Linked DNA regions of Homo sapiens: region 1 is linked to region 2. The links are contacts of gene promoters, found by promoter capture Hi-C in blood cells and fetal thymus (Javierre and others, 2016). All regions are on one chromosome and are shown on one strand. The core of a region is centred on a gene start or on the middle of the fragment in contact, and the rest is flanking DNA. Distances in the headings are between cores, read along the strand shown.

Region 1 (3,757 bases), core at 1-2,500, 52 kb after region 2:
AAGGCTGAGGTGGGAGTGTCATCTGAGCCCGGGAGGTCAAGGCTGCAGTGAGGTAAGATCGCACCACTGCACTGCACTCCAGCCTAGGCGTCAGAGTGAGACCCTGTTTCTAAGAAGAAAAAAAAAAAAGCCAGGCGCGGTGGCTCAAGACTGTAATCCCAGCACTTTGGGAGGCTGAGGTGGGCGGATCACTTGAGGTCAGGAGTTCGAGACCAGCCTGGCCAACACAGCGAAACCCAGTCTCTACTAAAAATACAAAAATTAGCCGGGTGTGGTGGCAGGCATCTGTAATCCCAGCTATTCGGGAGGCTGAGGCAGGAGAATCGCTTGAACCCAGGAGGCGGAGGTTGCCGTGAGCCGAGGTCAGCCTGGGCAACAGAGCAAGACTCCGTCTCAAAAAAAAAAAAAAAAAAAAAAAAAGAATACTAGATAAGTTAGGAGAGAGTGCACATAGGCTCCCGAAGGACAGAAGCAGCCAGCTGGAACTGTAGAGGTGAACTAGTATTTATCCAAGGGAACTAGGGATGGGCTGGGAAAGCAGGTGAGGTCAAAAGCGGAGAGAAGTATACCGTGCGGAAGCGGCAGATGGGGCTAGTTGGAGTTGGGCTGAAAGGGCCTAAAGTGGGGTCTAAAGGGGATGTCCTGACTCGGAGGGGGGTCAGCAGAACGCGAGGGAGCAGCGGGAGCTGCGGGGCATTCGGGCCTCAGATAGTTGGGTCCAAGCGGGTGACCTAGATCCAAGGGCAGGATGGAGCTGAAGGAAGCCAGGAAGGATCCTCCACAGTTGACTTCGGGGTAGCCACGGCCTGCGCCTGCGAGGGTGGATGAGGACCCGAGGGTCCGGCTGGGGCTGAGGGGCTGCCTGGAGCCCCGCTGGAGGGAAGCGCCGGGCCGGAGGGCGCGGCCTGCGCCTGAAAGGGCGACGGGGACCCTCGACAGGTGGACCGGGCGTGGCCGGACCTTCCGGGCAGCCCCGCCCGAGGGCACGACTGGGGGCTGCTTCCCTCGAGAGGGGCCCTGAGGTGGTGGGCCCAGGCTGAAGGGCAGGCTGGGGCCTGAGGGACGCCCCGGGTCTGAGAGGGCAGCTCCGGCCTTAGGCGGCACCCGGGCCTGAAGGGGTTGTTTGGGCCTCAGGCGGCGTCCAGGGCGGCCGAACTTGAGGGCCAGGCGGGGACAGAGCGCCCGAGTAGCCGCGCCACGGCCGGCCGCATTTGGCCCCAGCACCTGAAGCAGCTGCGCGGCGAATTCTAGAACTCGGCGGGGCGGGGAGGAGAGAGACGGCGATTCGAGCCGCGGGAGGAGCCGGCGGGCGGTGCTCGTCTGAGGGCGGGGCCTGAGCGGAGCCACCTTCTGGGCGGGCCTCGGCAGGAGGCTCCGCCCCCTGGACGCGCCTCCAACGGCGGCGACGGGAACTGGGCCGGGGCCTGGGTGCCCCCGCGGGTCAGCCCCCGACGTTTCCCTGTTCTTCAGGCGTCTGCAACCCTCCTGGGTTGCGGCGTCTGCTCGCCCTTCTGCGTCCGCAGCTCGGTCCCCACGTTCCCGCTCGCTGGGCCCCACAGGCCAGGAGCGTTGCCCCTTTAACAAGAGTAGCCCGGGTCGCTCCCGGCTCCTTCCCGGGACCGCGCGTACCCGCCCCTCCGCGCGCGCTCGCGCGTCCCCCGCCCCTCGCTCCCGCCCCAGCTCGCGCTGCCCGGGCGGGCGCCGGCCGCTGGCGCCGCTACTGCTGCCGCCCCCGGGGCGCGAGTCCGCCGCCCGCCGCCCGGGCACCCGGCGAGGGGCGGGGGCAGCTCCGAACCGGCCCCAGATCCTTCCCGCTTCCGCCTCACGCTTCCCGGAAAGCTTGTCCCTCTCCGCCGAGCTGCTCCGGGAGCCCCGCCGCGCCGAGGTGAGGGCTGGGGAAGGGGGAGGGAAGGGACGCCCGCGGAGGAATGTGCCGGGTTGGGGGGCGGGGAGCCGGGGTCCGGCGGCGCGATCTAGGCTCAAGAGTCGGGATCATGTGCTGTTTGTTCCGCGGAGGCGCAGAGAGGTGCCAGGCCCGGGCGGCCGCCGGCTGGCTGGACAGGAGGACGGGTCCGCATGGCCGCCCTGAGAGGCCGGGCGGGGACCTGTGTGAGAACCGCCGGGTGGGCAAGGTGCAGGTGGCCCAAGACCCCCTTTCGGGCCGGTCGGCCCCACCCCAGCCGCCCAGTATCCTCCTTGTACCCCACGGCTCCTTCACAGCTGCACCGGCCGACCCCTGTCCCTACCTCTATTCCCTTACCCCGCTGGCCCCCAGCCGTGCCACCCCATCCCTGTCCCATTAGCTGCAGCAACGGCGTCACCATCGCTTGTCCCCACCAGTGTCCTTCCCTCCCCTGGTCAGGGTCTAGGGGGTCAGGGCTGTTCTTCCTGAGCCAGCTTCTGTGATTCCAGCTACTCCCTTCCTGTCCTGGGACAGACCAGCCCCTCACCCTCCCATGCTCTGCCCAGGAAGACTGGTGAGGGGAGGCCCAGCGTGACAGGAGTTTGGGGTCCACTGGGGCCACAGGAGGGGGCTCCGCATCCCTTATCCTTCGTGGTCCTCCTCCCTGTTGTCCGTGGGCGTGGGCTGCTCAGCCTCTCCTCCCAGGGTGTGGGCACCCGATCACCCACATTCCTGGGCTCCAGCCTGGCACCTTCCCCAGGGCAGTGGACGCCATAGCACTAGCCCCAGGTTGGGGCTGGCACCAGCCAGCCGGCTTCCTTTTCTTTCTCCCTTTTAGGGAGGCCCCAGGGACCCTCTACCCTCAAACACAGGTATTTCTGGGCGCCCCAAGGGTGGAGCCCTGAGGGTTGGTCTGATGGCTACAGGATGACCCCACCCTCCCCTGCTCATTGTCCCGGATCCTGAGGAGGAAGTGCTGGGGGCTGGGCAAGGGGCTTAGAGCCCACACAGCTGGCCCTGTGGATCCCAGTCCTGGGCCCTACCTACAGTCCTTGGACTTTGCCCATCTGCACTACTGGCCTGGTGCATGGAGGTTGTGGGCCTCAGGTGGAAACTAGATTCTCCCTTGCCGACACTGTGGGGGAATTTGAGGACAGGTTTTGCATTTGCAGTTTCCTCTCTGGTCTCTCTTCTGGGCTCCCAGTTTGTGCTTTGGCGCCGGAGTTCCCCACCCTGTCTCTTTAACACCGTGTGTTTGCTGTGCTGTGTCTCTTCCTCCTTTCCTCTCCCATTCTTTCCTTCATAGCATGACCTCAGGCTTGCCTTTTGTCTTATTTCTCTAATTTTCTTGGTGTCTGTGACTCTCTGCCCCTCCTCTCTCTCTTCCCACCCCCCTCACGTCTCTGCCCATGTGCCCCTCTCTCTGAATTGCCCTCTGTCCAGCCTCTTTCTCTCTCTGTCCTCTATCTGAACGTTCAGTACATTTGCGAGTGACAAGGAATAAAAATATCACCGTCCCTGCCCTTGGATTCACATTGCATTCAGCCACTCTAGAGGGGCAGCTGTCCGTACTTTTCCTGCTATTCCCCCCGTAACCTTGGCCCTCCAACCTGGGAACCCCAGACGGGTCTCTGGAACCACAGGTGCCTTCTAACAACTCTTCCCCCGCAATCAGGGTATCTCCCAGAGCCCCAGCTGGTGTGGCCAGGCCCCAGGAGTAGGATGGGGCTCCCCCTACGAGGGCCGGTGGCAGCCAGAACTGATACAGCCCCCCTGGTCTGGGGCCAGGACGCCAGGTAACTGGGGGAGACCGCCCAGGTTCCTGCAAGCTGGAATATGGCTGGGGAGAGAGGC
Region 2 (4,119 bases), core at 1-2,500:
CTAAATTCTTCCATGTTCTGCCCTGACCTTATCCTGCCTACCTGTCTTATCTCTTCCACTGGCTTTGTAGGTGAGGGGAAATTTTTGCAAGGCTTTAAAAGCCTTAGCCCTGGGTCATTGTGGCTCAGTGAAGGACTAGATTATTTTCTTTCTGTCCCAGGAGACCAGTATGATGTCTGTGCCATTTGCCTGGATGAATATGAGGATGGGGACAAGCTGCGGGTACTCCCCTGTGCTCATGGTGAGGCCCTCACTGCCTGCCCATGCCCCTCTGCCACCAGCAGCCACCAGGTGCTTCACCTTGTTCCTCTCTGCAGCCTACCACAGCCGCTGCGTGGACCCCTGGCTCACTCAGACCCGGAAGACCTGCCCCATTTGCAAGCAGCCTGTTCATCGGGGTCCTGGGGACGAAGACCAAGAGGAAGAAACTCAAGGGCAAGAGGAGGGTGATGAAGGGGAGCCAAGGGACCACCCTGCCTCAGAAAGGACCCCACTTTTGGGTTCTAGCCCCACTCTTCCCACCTCCTTTGGTTCCTTAGCCCCAGCTCCCCTTGTTTTTCCTGGGCCTTCAACAGATCCCCCACTGTCCCCTCCCTCTTCCCCTGTTATCCTGGTCTAATAACCCCCCACACATACACCTCTGGTGACCTATTTGCACAGACCGTCGTCTTCCCTCCAGTCTTCTGAGGGATAGGGGACATTCCATCCCAAGCTTCTCCCTTACCCACACCTATCCTTTTGAGGGGCTTTGGGGTGGAGCTGGGGCAAGCAGAGGGACTGGGTCTTCACTTCTTGGGCTAATAAAATTGTTTCTTTGTGGACTAAGGAAGGGTAAGATCATTCTCACACAGGTGAACTTAACCCTTTGGTGGAATCACCCCTTTAGCCATAAGGAGCAAGGGAATGCTGAGAGACACTAACCTATAGTCATGGGGACAGCCCCAGCCGGCATTTGCTATGACTCAGAAGGGGGAGCCCCACCCACAAGGATGACTCAACTAGCCCTGCCTTGCCTGCAGGCCTGCACCCATTCTCTGGTCCAGATGGCTCTATTCCATCATCCACCAATTTGACCAGCACACTGAGGACTTAGGCCTGGAAATGCCACTGTGGAGGGGCAGGGCCACCTGGCCAGAAGCTCAAATTCCTGCACCTTGTAGTACCTCAACCTCCCTGCTCCCAAGCCACGATAAAGGAGGCAAGTCACAGTGCCTATCCCCCATTCTGACACCCAAGCTCAAATCACACAGCACCTTGTTAGTAGAATCTTTTTTATTCAGAAAAAAAAAACCCCAAAAAACAAAAGTTTTCCAACCACACACGGGAGGGATATGGGTAGGGGGAGGTGTCTGTCCATCCAGCCCTGGCCCCCAGCCCATGTGGTTTTGGCAGCAATAAGGGGTATGGGGTAATGGCCCAAAAAATAAAATGGTTTGTGTGTGTATGGGGAGGAAAGGGGTGCAAAGCTGTGGGGAGCGGTGAAGGGGAAGGGACAGACGAGGTCAGTACTGGGAACGCCGAAGGTGGGAGGCCATTTCATAACATTTCTTGTTGATCAAACCACCGTGGACACCTTCTTTGCCCATCAGCAGGACTAGCGCTGGAGGAGGAGGAAAGAGAAAGGAGGCTAGGATCCAGGTGTCACAATTCCACCCCCTGCCAGCTGTTCAGCAGCTGTCCAGCCCTGGGGGCTGTAACCCAACCTCATCTCTCCCAACCCGCCCCCCCACCACACACAGGCAGGCTGTCAGTCACCCTGAAACAATAAGGCTTTTCAAAAGAGGAAAATCAAGCTTAAACGCTGGAGAGGAACAGACTAAAAACTTAGGGGTCAAAGGCTCATAGACTGTTGATTCATGTGTTCAGGCTAGAAAGGGCTGTGGATGTGCATGCCACCTCCAGGTTCTAACAAAAGAACTCAAACGATGAACTCGATGATTCAAGACCCCAACAATCTACCTATACTCCTAGAAAACAGTTTCTAATCCGAGCTCAAGGCAGTAAGTAATTTAAGAGGTAATGCAGTTCAGCAACTTCGAATTACAAGATGAGGAACTGAGACAGAATGGAGGGACTATCCCGTGTTCCAGCATCCAGCAGACAAGGAACACAATACTGGTCTGACTCCCTTCATGTTGGGGAATCACACAAAAAAGCACCCTCAAGATTACCAGAAGGCGGTACATTAGAGATCTTGGAGCTAAAGGAAGGGTAAGACTCAGGAACTCACTCTTGTCAGTCTTGGTGACAGTGACATTGAAGGTGGGGGCCCCACCGGTGCTCTTGGTACGAAGATCCATGCTAAATTCCCCATCCTGCAGCAGTGAGTCCCGGATCACCGAACATTTCTGGCCCCCAAGTGTCAGCCCATTCACGTAAAAACTTGACCGGTCTTTGCCAACCAGGACACCCACCTCAGCTGGCTGGAAGAGGAACCAAGCGCCCATCAAGTTAGTCAGTGCACCAAGATTCCCACCGTGTTCTCCAAAGACCCACCTGTCTTCCACTTCTGAGAACCACCCCGCCGTGGGGGCTAAGTATAAATTATATACTCAGTACACATCAATGAACTGTGAGAAACTCTGAGGACTGTGGGACGTTAGTGCAGAAAAAGATCATGATTCTGAAACTTAGAATATGGAACCAGGGAGGAAGGGATGACATACTCCTCTAGAGATTTAGATGTCAGTGTTAATGGGGAAAGTAAACCCAGGAAATAAAGGGAGTCAGTGAGGTAAGTGAGGAGCCTTTGGATGCTCAGAACTCTCCTTCAGGAAAAGCAGAAGCGGAGAGGGGAAGGGAGGGGGGCGGGCGAGGCAAGAGAAGCAACTTTGCCCTTATTTGGTCAAAGGTTCTGCAGGAGCTGTTAGGGCCCGGACGCCTGGGTCTCCAAGTAACCTAGAGTTTAGCTCCAGGTATCTCTGCTCTGAGATGAGGAAGCAGACCCCTGGGGGCTTTCCGGGAAAGTTGGAAAACTTTTGAAGGTGGACAGGGGCCAGACCCGGCAGGCCAGCTCTCGGGTCTAGGTACCCCGGGAACCTTTCCCCCCTCCCCCTTTCACCCCAAGCCCCCACATCCGGTCCCCTCCCGCCCGGAAACCCCCTTCCCCCCCCTTTTGAACTTCCGCTCCCCCTCCCCACTTCCGGGCAGTGTGGACAGGGAGATGGTGGTGGGAGCAGCGGTAGTAAACCAATATACTTTCGCTTATGCTGTCTCAGAACTTCTCACAAAGTTCCCCTGCTCCAGGCCCCGCCGGATGGCGGGAAGGGAGGGCGAGGGGACTTCCGGGATTGGCCTCGCAGGAATGTTGAATCCAACGTGCTGAGCTGGGGGGGCGTGTGGTGGCCTCGCCCTCTCTAACGGAGTTAGGAGGGGCCAGAAGCCCACAGAGGGTGGGCAAGGGACCAAGACCACGCGCCTGGGGCTCCCTTCCGCACCAGGAGAAACAATGGTAGAGGGACGCGGGCTGGCAGCCGGACGGGGAGCTGGGGGTCCAAGGATCCCCGGGTCCCCTCTCAATCCCAATCCCCAGTAAAAACTGAGGCGCGTCCCCGCCCCGCCCTGGGAGAGGCGGAAGTGGGCCGCCGCACCGGGCGCCGCGCCCCTCCCCGCCCTGTGCCCCGGATGTAACGCCCCGTCGCGGAAAGCGGGGTAGCGGGCGGGATGGGCGCCGCCGCCTGGGGCATAGGACCTACGGGCAACTGAGGGACCCACTCACGTGCAGCCGCCATTCGCGCCGCTTCCAGGGCAAGCACCCAGTCAGGGCCTCTCGCTGCGCGCCCTAGACCGCGCCCGCCCCCACCCAAGTCCCTCCCTCAGGGTCCAAACCGGAGCAGTGCCCCGGACCGCGCAGGCCTCGCAGTACCGTGATGTTGACGAACGTTTTCCCGGGGACGGCGGCCCAGACGGAGGGCGAGTCCTTGTAGCCCACGATGGCCGCGTCCTGACAGGTCCCGTCCGCCATGAGGTTGTCGATGTAGGCGTTCCACCCGGCCATGGCGCTGCTACTGGGGCTGCTCTCGGCGCTGCTGCTGGGGCCGCGGACTGGGCTCGAGCTGCCTCGGCTGGCGGGCGGGGGGAGGCGGAGAGCTCGGGGCACGCGCTGCCGTCCGGACCGCG

What was found. Contacts are between HindIII fragments. The CHiCAGO score rates a contact against its expected background, and 5 or more counts as called.
Region 1: the fragment with the promoter of INCA1 here is called in contact with a fragment that was not itself captured in region 2 in 3 of 17 cell types (M1 macrophages, M0 macrophages and neutrophils); the score reaches 6.4 in M1 macrophages.

What each region holds. Positions count from the first base shown.
Region 1 is chr17:4,996,272-5,000,028 of GRCh38, forward strand. INCA1 (inhibitor of CDK, cyclin A1 interacting protein 1) reads right to left here and starts at 1,251. Exons shown (of 7, transcript NM_001394789.1): 1 at 1,225-1,251. KIF1C (kinesin family member 1C) reads left to right here and starts at 1,679. Exons shown (of 23, transcript NM_006612.6): 1 at 1,679-1,885; 2 at 3,579-3,699. RefSeq lists silencers at 992-1,081, 1,122-1,991, 2,042-2,141 and an enhancer at 3,384-3,757. The HindIII fragment of the contact is 6,815 bases long and covers 1-1,837 here.
Region 2 is chr17:4,944,398-4,948,516 of GRCh38, forward strand. RNF167 (ring finger protein 167) reads left to right here. Exons shown (of 10, transcript NM_015528.3): 9 at 161-241; 10 at 318-825. The coding sequence ends at 619. It overlaps PFN1 (profilin 1), which reads right to left. Exons shown (of 3, transcript NM_005022.4): 1 at 3,866-4,119; 2 at 2,231-2,423; 3 at 1,255-1,600. The coding sequence starts at 3,997. The coding sequence ends at 1,503. Among named protein-coding and RNA genes, the nearest start is that of PFN1, 2.1 kb to the right of the region's middle. RefSeq lists enhancers at 1-358, 1-42, 913-962, 973-1,062, 1,123-1,292 and 1 more and silencers at 3,403-3,632, 3,663-3,732, 4,003-4,119. The HindIII fragment of the contact is 1,081 bases long and covers 711-1,791 here.